2 separate regions of the Homo sapiens genome follow, and region 2 is linked to region 1. The links are contacts of gene promoters, found by promoter capture Hi-C in human tissues and cell types (Jung and others, 2019). All regions are on one chromosome and are shown on one strand. Each heading gives the region's core, a stretch centred on a gene start or on the middle of the fragment in contact. The rest is flanking DNA. Distances are from core to core; before and after follow the strand shown. Region 1 holds the start of ERI3 (ERI1 exoribonuclease family member 3). Region 2 overlaps RNF220 (ring finger protein 220).

Evidence for each region. The method cuts DNA at HindIII sites, captures the fragments that hold promoters and counts their contacts. A contact is called where the count stands out against the background at its distance.
Region 2: a contact is called between a fragment that was not itself captured here and the fragment with the promoter of ERI3 in region 1, in 1 of the 25 tissues and cell types used here (thymus).

The regions. Positions count from the first base shown.
Region 1 is chr1:44,352,289-44,358,083 of GRCh38, reverse strand. It overlaps ERI3 (ERI1 exoribonuclease family member 3), which reads left to right and starts at 2,827. Exons shown (of 9, transcript NM_024066.3): 1 at 2,827-3,192; 2 at 5,159-5,234. The coding sequence starts at 3,058. RefSeq lists enhancers at 2,543-2,592, 2,493-2,993 and a silencer at 2,863-3,092. The HindIII fragment of the contact is 16,235 bases long and covers 1-5,795 here.
Region 2 is chr1:44,511,826-44,517,620 of GRCh38, reverse strand. All of the region lies in intron 2 of RNF220 (ring finger protein 220), which reads right to left. Among named protein-coding and RNA genes, the nearest start is that of MIR5584, 31 kb to the left of the region's middle. The HindIII fragment of the contact is 7,769 bases long and covers 1-5,795 here.

The sequences.
Region 1 (5,795 bases), core at 1,578-4,077:
TCTGGTTGTCTTTGTTTCCCTTGGGATGATGGCTAGGTTTTGACACAGCCTCCAATGTGCCCACTGTGGCGGGACTGCAGTGGACCTAATCTGACCCAACCAGAGGCTTTGATTCCTCTCACCATTTCTAGTCTCAAATGAATGACTGTGCTTCCAGGTGTGGAATCTGGCACCCCCTGTGGCTACGGCAGTGGTGGGGTAACATAACCCTTCCTTCTCCCTGTCACACAGGATGGTTCTACACACCTTGTACGACAGAGCAACTAGTTGTATTTTCTTTGAGGCACTGGCCAACTTCTCAGTAAGACACTATCTTGTACGTTCTTTCCCTCCTTCCCTGCTTCACTTCCCCCCTTCCCCCACTCTTTTATTTATTTGTTTATTTAAGTCACGGAGTCTTGCCATGTTGCCCAGGCTAGCCTTGAACTCCTGACTTCAAGCGATCCTCCTGCCTCAGTCTTCTGCCTCCTGAGTAGCTGCGACTACTACATGCGTCACCATACCCGGCTCCCCTCACTCTTGATGCCTTGGGATTGAACTCCCCAATTAAATTTGAGCACATAAGTTTTGCCTCAGGCTCCGTTTCCTTTTTTTTCTTTTATAGAGATGGAATCTTGCTATGTTGACCAGTCTGGTCATGAACCCCCGGGCTCAAGCAATCCTTCCACCTTGGCCTGCCAAAGTGTTGGGATTACAGGCATGAGCCACTGTGCCCGGCCCAGGCTCTGTTTTCTAGGGAACCAGATAGCACACAACAGAGCCATGGCTTGAGAAAGCCAAGTGCTGTGTTAGGCGGCAGTGTAAGATACCAAGTGTATACTGAGCTGTTAAACTGTTCTATTATTTGAATCAATTTGCCTGGTCTTTGTACAAAAAGAACTTACAGTGTGGTGAAGTCCTGGAAGCTGTACAGTTGAGCCCTAGTGCACCAAGGAGGAAAGAACACATTCTGGGGAAGTCAAGGGGACCATGGAAGGCTCCACAGAGGATGTTGGGGCTGGGCATTACATAAAGCCTTGAATCCAGATACTATAGATTTACTTCATTCTTACAGCCAAGAAGATTGGCTGTGCCCTACTCTCAGGCCATAACTCAGTATATAACAAAGCTATCTCACTGCCTCTTGTCTTATTTTTATATTTACTTGTTTTATTATCTATTCTTCCTCCTACAGCCCCTCCCCAATTTATTTATTATGGCTCACTGCAGCTTTGTCCTCCCAGGCTCCAGTGATCCTCCCACCTCAGCCTCCTGAGTACCTGGGACTACAAGCACGTGCCACCATGCCTGCCTAATTTTTAACTTGTTTGTAGAGATGAGAATCTCATTATGTTGCCCAAGCTGGTCTTGAACTCCTGGTCTCAAAGGATCCTCCTGCCTCAGACTCCCAAAGTGTTAGAATTACAGACGTGAGCCACGACACCCAGCTTCCCTCTCCAATTTAAAAGCTCCTTGAGAATAGAGGTGTGTCGTTATTCATCAATGAATCCTCAGCAACAGAAACAGTGCCTGACACTTAAGAGAGGCACTATAAATACAGATGGACTGACTGACCAACTGGGGTTAATGTGTAGGTAATAATAGGAGAATCTGTTCCAGCTCCAAGAGTTGGGGGATAGTGCCTCCACTTTACTGACCTCGGGATAAGTCTGTCCCTGCTGCTGGATATTCCCTCATTTGTTCGCAGACATTTATTGCGGGCCTTCTTTATACCTGCCCTATGCGGTGTATTACTGATACAACATGAACAATATGGAAAAAATGCTTTTCCTAAAGGACTTAAAACCCTGTGGGAGCGACAACAAGGAAACAGACAATTATAAGACAATATGATAAATGCTATAGGTCCACAGCAGAATCACCTAACCTATGACGTGGGTGGGATTAAGGAAGGCATTCCCTGATATGGGGATTACCAGGCACTCTCAGCTCAGGTGGAAACCGTTATGGTAAGGTCCGCTCTCAGAGGTGGTAGGGCCCAGAAATGACATCATCCTAAGTGTAAGTATGCAGACAGCACACAGAGGGGCTTGGTAACTGAAGCTGGGCCCAGAGGATGGGGTCCTGACCGATTGGGAAGCTGTCAAAGCCATCATTCCCAGCTCATAACCTGGGACCCATGACTACCCAGAAAGGCATAACCAGGATGAAGAAACACAGGTCTCTCCAGCTTACTGGAGAGACTGACTGGGGAAGCTCCTCACAGCTGAGGCCAGAAACCTTTTAAACAGAAGTTTCCTCTGAGTGGACCTGAACAAGCCAGTTCCCTCTTCCTTAGGACGGCCCTTCACAAATCTAAGCATTTTCCTCTTAGCTTAATCCCTCCTTGTCTCAGGTCTCCCCCAGGCCCACATCCGAAAGTAGATGACAATAATTACTTGTTGAATGAACGAATCATGAGGAGTCATGTAAATAGAATTCTGTCACGTTGTGAGCCCACATTCACCTTACGGGTATATTGGAGGGCGGGAAAACGGAGATGGGGGGCTCCACTAATGTGTGTCTGTGATCCTGGTTAGATCGCTGTAGGCCATAGAAAGTTTCATTTTAAAAAAATTCCTTTCACAGATCAGAAGTGATGTCCCCGTCCCCGTCTTCTCTTCTGAGTTTGTGCAACGTCAAAACTACAAGTCCCATAAGGCCGGCGGCCGGGAGTCACCATCTTGACATACCTTAGCGCGCATGTCGGCGGGAGAGCGAGCGTTTGGGGAGAAGAAGCCCCGCCTGACTGCAGCCCATTGGTCAAAGGGGTCGGCAGCGGGCTCAGCGGTTGGCCACAGCGCCCGCCCGTCCGCCGCGTCGGTCGGGGTCAGAGTGCGCGGAGGTGAGTCGGTGTGTTGTGGACTCGTGGTGCTGGCTGCCGCTGTTCAGGCGGCCGGGAACGGGCGGTGGGGAGCGGGCGGAGCTGGCCCTGCCTCTGCCTGGCCGGCGCCGCAGTCGGCGCGGGCCGCGCCCGCCGCCGCCAACTGCCCTGAGCGCTTGCTGAGGCCGAGGGAGACGTCGGGGCCTGCACCTGGAGGGAGCCTGCCGCGCTGGCCCCGAGGAGGGGGCGTTGCCATGGCGACAGCCTCTCCCGCTGCTGACGGGGGGCGGGGGCGGCCCTGGGAAGGAGGGCTGGTCTCCTGGCCCCCCGCCCCTCCCCTTACTCTCCCCTGGACTTGGATGGGCCCGAGTTGGGGGCAACACCCCGGGGTGGGTGATGCTGAATGGCCCCGCCAAGATTGGGCCCTGGTTAATGCATGCGGGGTGAGGGTCGCGGTGCGCAGAATTTATGCAACCTGGGGTGCTGGCCCATGTGCTTACCCTGGATGCTTACTTAATCTACTGAGTAATGTTCTGGCGGAGGGGGAGCGGGGCAGAGCTTTGCAAGACAGGATGGGTGAGTTTATTAAGGGGGTTGACTTACTGGGATTACTAGAGAAGAAAAAGGTTTGACTAGAGAGGCTAGAAATGGAGCATGGAGATTGTGGGTAGAACATTCCCTTGACCCTCTCGCCAACACATGCCCACACACCAGGTTAGCAGTTTACCTCTTTGTAAATCTGAAGCGGTGGTAGTAGTGATGGTGGAAGGAGTGAATAAGGGCCTAACCTGGCTAGCTTTCTGTTTGCCTGTCTTGCAAATGGTCCAGCAACAGGTGTTTTCTTAAAAAAAGCATGAACTTGGATTGAGGCTTGACTGCGAGTTCTTGCAAAATATAACTGCTCCTTGTTGACTTGGAAGATGCTGGATGTGGGGCCCCTCAATGGGGGTTTGGATTTTGTCCTTAGAGCTGGATTTTGCAACAAATAGTGCCCATCGTTGTGTCTGCGAGAGGTCTCTGGCCACTTCAATGGCATTTACTCTTGTCAGACATTTAATCAGTCTCCCAGCGGAAGGGCAGCAAAACATGAATCCTATTGGCTAAAAGAGTGTACGCTATTCAAACTATAGTAGGTTGTGAGTGGCTAAATGAGTTTTGATTGTAGAGTTTCTTCCAGAAATTGGCTTCATCAAATTCTGCTTTATTCTGACTTTATCATATACAGCATGCCTTGTTTTAGTGGGTTCTTGCTTGGAGCTTAGTTTATTATACCTGAATCTCCTACCATTTAAAAGCCAATTTATAAACAGGGACTTGGAGTGTGACTCCACTAATGTGTGTCTGTGATCCTGGTTAGAAACCCACTTGGCTGCCTTTTCCTCAGGAGGTGGGGGTTGGGGGAAGGGAGCTGCCGGGAAGTGATTGATAAGGTTTCCTTTATAGATTCTGTGGTGCTTCACTGGAGCTCAGAGCACTTTGGCAACTTAAGCACTCCAAATTAAAAGCTCATTAACAATTCCTGCCCAAAGATCCTGTAAATAATCAGCTAGCTAGGTCATAGAGCTTGGCTAAGAGCTTTTCTTCCAACTTGAAATTTCCAAATAAAAGTGCTTTTATTCCCTTTCATTTTAAAAAGTGTTTTCTTTGTGGTGGGGTAAATTGGTGAGTGGCCTTTTCCCAGGGGATCTGAGTAGAAGAAAGTCTTAAATGTGTGGAATGGTAGACAGGAATATATTAGTTCCAACCCTAGGTGTTTCTTTATGCAAAAGACATCACTAACAGGGGCATCTCTGCAACTTCTGGTCCTTTGGAGGATATGAATTAGTTGAAAAGGATGATAGGTATCTATTGATGTTTTGACTTGGGATTTAGTTACCTTGACTTTCTTAGAGCTTGAAGCAGGCTTGGAACTATCCTGAAAGTGTTTCCTAGTCTATGTGGCCATTTTCAGTATGGCTTGTGGATTTGTGGCAACCAACCCCTACCCCAGTCCTGGCCCAGCCTTAGTTCCTTAGTTCTGAATATTGTCAGCCTTACCAGTGTCTTCCTCCTTGACTAGACTAGGATTCTGAAACTACCCAGAGGCACCACTTCATAGCTATCTTTCTCGGTAAATGTTTAGTGTTTCTAGGAGGTGAGCCTCCTTAGGAGCAAAAGTATATGACTAGAGAACATGAAAATCATTACAAATGTAGTACTAATAGTTTCTGAAAGCTCTGTGGGGGCACTGTCTTTGCACATAGATAGCAGTTATCCCGAAGTTTGAGTTTAGAGTTTGAGGTGTAGTATCCTTCATGGGGATTTGATCCTTGGTATTGAAATAGACTTGTTGCAGAGATGTGTATTTATCCACAGCATTGGGGCTTTCCAGCTCTCACAGAACCTTCAGCATCCCCAGCTGCCGGTCTTGGCATCTTCGAAGTAAGGAGAGGTGAGAATCCTGTTGCATGGTCAAGTCTGGCTTTATTTTCTTCTGAGTATTTGGGCTTGGAGGGTAGGGGGTGGGGGCTGATGCAGATTGTATTTTTTTTCCCATGTATCCCCAAAGTCTAAACGAATCATATTTTTTTGTAGCTTCTTCTGATAAAGTAACATATGCTCAAAGTCTGTAGAAACTTACTTAAAGTTTCTAAAGTGGTAAGAGTTGGAGGTGGGAGATCCAGACTGTCAAGTTCTGTCACAACTGCTTTATGGGCATCTCATGAGCACCTACTTTAGGTTCAGGATGGTTGAATAGAACCAGAATAGCCCATTATCCTGAGAAATACACATCTTAAGAAAATAGGAAGAAACATCTTCATTTGGCTTTAAACATTTATCTATCTATCTATCTATCTATCTATCTATCTATCTATCTATCTATCTATCTATCTATGAGACCTTGCTAGGTTGCCCATGCTGGGCTCGAACTCCTGGGTTCAAGTGATCTCCTGCCCACAAGTAGCTGGAGCTACAGGCATGTGCCACTACACCTGGCTCTCGTTTGGCTTTT
Region 2 (5,795 bases), core at 2,426-4,925, 160 kb before region 1:
CAGAGCTTACACTTAGTGAACAAGACAGACATGAAACAACTAAACAGGCAAATAAATGTCTAACTACATTTGTCAAACACACTTGAAGACAATAGATAAGAAATAGAAAAGTCGGTGATGACAACAGTCAAAGGCCAGGTTAAAAGAAAAAAGAAAGAAAGAAAAAAACAGGTGAAATCTTTTATAGACTGGGACGAGTTCTCTGAGGAAATGGCATTGAAGCTAAGATCTGAAGGATGAGGGGAAGCAGTCATGTAAGGAGGCTGGAGAGAGGGAACTGGGCAGGATGAAAGACCCCGAGGAGAGATGGGGGTCCGGGAAGACAGGGGGCAGGTCTTGCCGCGTTAAGGATTATGGGCTTGACTCTAGGGGTCATATCTCTTAAAAAGATTCCTTAGCTGCCAGGTGGAGAGGCTAGAATGGGAAGTGGCAAGGATGGAAGGGAGAAATCAAATAGAAGACAGTTCCAGCAGTGACAGAGGACAGATGCTGATGCCTGGATTTTGGGCGGTGCCAGGCAAGCTGGGGAGAAGGGAATGCATTTGAGATAGGATTTAGAGGTAGACTGAGGGGCTGAGGAACAGGGAAAGGCTGAAGAGTGATTCCCAGGTTTCTGGCTTGGACAAGTGGATGGGGAGGTGCCATGGGAAAAGGGGAGAGGGAACAGTTTTGGTGGGAAAAATGATGAGCAGCATTCTGGACTGGTGAGGGCAGAGTGTCTGTTAGAGATCCATGTGGTGGTGGTAAATAGGCAGTGTGGAGCTTCAAAGAGAGGTCTGAGGTAGGGTTAGCATGAGAATGGGGACAGGAGAGGACAAAAAGGTGAAGTTAGGTGAAGAAATCATTCATCTCTCTGAAACACATTGACTTAATGTATGGAATGGAAATAATATGAAATGAGATCATGTAAAACCACATGGCATATAATAGACACTCCATAAATATTGGTTTCCTTTCCCTTCTCTTCCTCTTTCCCTTCACTTTCCTCCCATCTTCCTTTCTCTTGGTGGTTCTTCGATCCCTTTCTTTTTCTCACTATCCTTATACACTGCACACAGCTATCACAAAAATGAGGACAGCAAATTTCTTAGAAGCTGCTAAACATATTAAGGAACAAGGGGTCAGGAATAGTTGACTTAAAATTCATGCATCCAACTATCATGCCATGTCCTTTGCTGGGAACACCTTTCCTTTGCTCTTTGGCTGCGTAGCAAACTTCTTAAAGATTCATTTTAAGCTTTGCTAATTCTGTGAAGTCTTCCTTAAGGTCTCTAGTTGATTTAGGTGTTTGCTTCTTCTAGGAGGTGCTGCATCTTACATCTATCTTAGCACTTACCATAGTGTTTTGACATTACCTCTTTGGCTGGCCTGTCTCCTTGGTAGACTATGAATTCCTTTAAAGGAGAACTGTTTTTAAACCTTTGTATTTCCAGCACTTAACTTAGACGAGGCAGTTTATTTAAAAATATGTTGCATCATCTCCAAGGCTCTGAGATTCCATAATTTTAAGCAAAAAGTTTAGATGAGTGAAAAAGCAAACAACACCCATATCTCCTTTGCTATCCTTTTAGAAGGAGATGGTGTAGCAGCTAAGATCACATTCAAGGGAGGCAGATCTGAAGGTTTTAGCGTCTCATCTTCAGATCCGCACTGACGGGCAAGCCAAGTGATACCCAGAGGCACCTGAAGCCAAGTCATTTATTTCAGGTCCGGGTGAAAGGACTGTATTTTAGGAAAGTGTATGTAATTTACAATTTTAATATTCCTACACAGAGGTAGCAGATAAGGACAAGGTTGCCATCTCTGTGCTAAATGTCAAAGGAGGAAACTTCTGTAAGCTGCTGCTGTTTCCTAGACTCTTGGAGCATCTACAGAGCTCGGAGAACTCTGAGATTGCCAAGAGAGCCTTCTCATACTGTGTGATTTTCATGGATGGAATGTTAGCCATTTTCCCCTATACTGGCACCCTCAGTTCATCACACAAAGGGAAAATAAAAGGGAAGTGACTCAAATTAAATAGTAGGTCTGAAGAGCTTTGACTCAGCATGATACCTGGAATAGAGCAGGCATCCTATAAATGTTGGGACAAATAAATGGTTCTGAAACCCCAAATGCCTCAGTTTTTCTTTAAGAACCTGTATTCTCACCACAAGCAATGACTTCTTCATTCCTAGAGCATGCCAATCCTGTGGATCATTTACAACTTTATCTGCTATTACTGTACCTAACACAATAATCACCACACAAACTACACCTACATTATTCAAGAACCATCTACTCAATTGTGTTGACCTCAGTTAATCTCAGCAACTGCCACAGCTCTAAGAGCCCCATTTCCATTTGATTCTATACCCTGCTACCCTTCTCCCGTCCCCAGTGACATCCACCCCGTGTTCTGGATTCCCCTAGTGGTCTTGAAACCTCCTGGTTTGTCTGGGCTGAGATTTTCTTCAAACATTGAGGCAAAATGGGAAGGGAATAGACTGTTGGCTTGGTCCCTGCTGCTGATAGCTATACATTTCCATTCAACACCAGCCTCCTGGACTTGCCTTTCAGAACTTATTTCCAGCCTTCATAGCCACTCCCTGGAACAGTCTTGCTAGGTCTTCCCTTTCTGTGTTTGTTCCCCCATGACTGACCCATTTTCAAGGACTGGTCCTTGTTCAGCCCAGCTCCTACCCCTTTGCTTCTTGACTTTAAACTCTACCTGCCCTGCTGGACGTGCCAATCTTTGCATCTGGAGCATGAGAGGTTACTGTAGAGGTTATGCACACAACTAGTAAAGCATGAACTTCAGAACCTCTAAAGCCACTCCCCAATCTGTGGTTCTGTGACTCGGGTACTTCCCTTGAGCTCATGTGAATAAAACATTCAATTTTGTTTCATTTATGGGTCTTGTTATCATGTTAGCCAAAAGATATATCTTTTTTAAAAAAATCTAAAAAGTAGCCCAATAGCTGGCTAGTTCTTAGCTTAGTCCATAGAGAACACCTAAATCCCAAGTAAAACAGGGAGCAGCAGGACATTCTGCAGGCCGGAAGAGGAGATCGTTTCAACACTAGCATGGTCATCAGCATTAAAGAGTCAGTTGGGGTTTGACTGTAGAGCTTCTAGTGAAGCTCACAATGGAGGAAGCCTAAACCATTCTGAACCAGGGACGAATGCCTAATATTCTAGCTTCACTGCAACCCCTGAAGTCTTCCTCTCAGGCTACATTTCCAACAGGCAATGAAGAATCAATTATCTGAATATTCTAGTATTGTCTAGTTAGACGAAAGTCTGATTGATCAGCATTTTCTACTCAGGAAGGCACGGGCTTCCAACATCGCAGCTGTCCCTCCATAATTCCATTATTTTAGGCCGCTCATTTAACAAATCCTGCAAGCCTGCTACGTGGGAGGCACTGTGCTAGGTGCTGAGATTATGGCACTTAACAAGAGAAACAGGGTCCTGCACTCAAAGAGCTCACAGTTTGGAGTGGGAGTTAGACACTAAACAAATATAGCTACTTGATCTATTACTTGGTTATATTTAGGACTAAGCGATACAAGGATAAATACAAGATGCTACACGACTATATATTGAATCCAAACAAGGTCTGCTGTGGTGATACTATGAAGGGTGGCCTGATCTATTACTCGAATGGTTCTTTTCTCCCTTCTTCTCTTAGGCTCTTTCTGCTTCCTGAAGGGAAACTTCCAAAGCTAACAAACGCCTCTATTCCAGGAAGAGCGGAAGTAGAAGACATTGGCGATGTGGCATAAGATGCCCATATACCTGGGGAGACAGCTGCACGGGCATGTGTGCACACACGCACACAGACACACGCGCACACATGCAGAGGATGACCCATGAAACATGCCCTGGGGGGAAGAAGAGGAAGAAAAAAAATGAAATCCAAACAGTCTTTTTCACCCCGAAAACATATAATTTTGTGTAAATTTTTACTTTAAACATCTCTCTTTTCCTGAGCTGTGATATGGGCCCTGTCAAAGCCAGGGCCAATTACTGCCATTAGGTTCCCATCATGTCACCGCTTCTCCCCCCGTCTGGAAGGCCCTCGCCTCACAGGCCTATAATCTGCACTCACTTTCGCTCCATCACTTTCAGAAGGAACAAAATTGTTTTGTGTGTTTTTTTTTAAAAGGGCCTTTATTTGGCCCCTGTCAACTCTGAAAAGAAGAGAGTGAAAGAGAGAGAGGAGGAGAGAGAAAAGAGGAGAAAGAAAGATTGTTTAAGTGTTTAACCATGAGATTGCCAACAGCAAGCATGCGGGAGGCAGCCTGGCTGGCCCCCATGGGCCAGGCTCGGGACCCCAGGGACGCCACACCCTGGGCCTTGCCACTTGCTTCCCCTTTTGGGTAAGTTATTTCCATTCCCAGAAGAGCTCCTCGCACAGGTTCTGATCTCATAGCCTTGGAATAATCTATCTGAAGATATCATCAAAGAACAGGCAGGTTCTGAATTGCCAAACCAGCTACTGCGAATGTCTATCACAGGCCAGAAAGTGGGGGAACCTTTCTGGACTCCAAATCCCTTAAGGGATTGGCTGCAGTGGGGGCAGAGAGTCAGAGAAGACCCTTGGGAATGCTGAGGATGCTGCTAGCAAAAGGCAAAATGAAAGCTGGTCTGTTGGGACAGTGCCTGGACCATTGGGTGGGTTGGCTTGGTCCCTCCCTTGGCTCAGCCGGGATGTTCCTAATCCTTGCTCTCTCTTCCTCAGGTCAACTGGCTGCTCCAGGAGCCACCGAGCTCACTGTTGGGAAACTCGCTGCCGAAGGGTGAGGCCCCTGTGCCACCTGAGACAGCCGCTCTTCTTCCACCGTAGTTACACCTTCCTGAAATCTGCAGACGGTTATCACACCCCTCCGCTTGGCCAGGCTGCCCAGCATGCCTCTCCACTCCTGCCGCCTCCGTCGTCACTTAGCCAAGCTAAACAGATTTAGCTCCTTTAATCTTTCCTCATTAGCTGGCAATCTGGAAAGGAAACAAATGCTCACCCCATACAGGTTCAAGCTGTTGCTTTAACCTTGTAAAAGTGTGTAGGGCGCTGGGGCTGTGGAGTCAGTTAGGATCATTACCATGAGGAGCCACTCCCTCTCAGCTAACCCCCTTAGGGGCCGTCCCCATTCTTTTTGAAACCACCCCAGTGTGTCACCTCCCTTCTAGGTCCCAGAGCTCCACATCCAAATTGTGTGCATGCAACCCCCAAAGCAAGGCAGCTTCCAGGGCCTTCCTATGGCTTTTTTGGATGAGCAGAGATTTCCTCCCAAATATGTTCATTTGTTTCAACCCACCGCCTCCCCCCATAATTAGGTGTTCATGTGGTTGTTGACTTCTTCAGGTTCCTGAATTGTTCCTCAGCCACACCTACCTATCAGCTTTTTCAGTTACATGCAGCTTTCTCCCCATCCAAAATGAGACCTTATGTTAAATTGGTTCAGAATACTCTGTTCATCCAGAGAGTGTCCCTCTCTCTGAATGATTCCCTGCCATCGATTTTTCTTTTCTGTGCAGTTTTCATTTACATACCTACAACCACAGCGAAAACCTGAACCTGTTTTAACAACAGCCACTTGTGGCACACCCATTACAACACATCTGTTTTTCTGTTTTCAATTTGATCACTTAGCGCTATTCTGTTTGGTGTGGTTTGGCCCTTAGGCATACTTACACACACACACACACACACACACACACACACGCACACACACGCTTCTCAATTTTACTTTCCTCCCGGAGATGACAGATTTTTTCCCCCTTTCATTGTATCTAGTTCCAAACTGACTGGATGA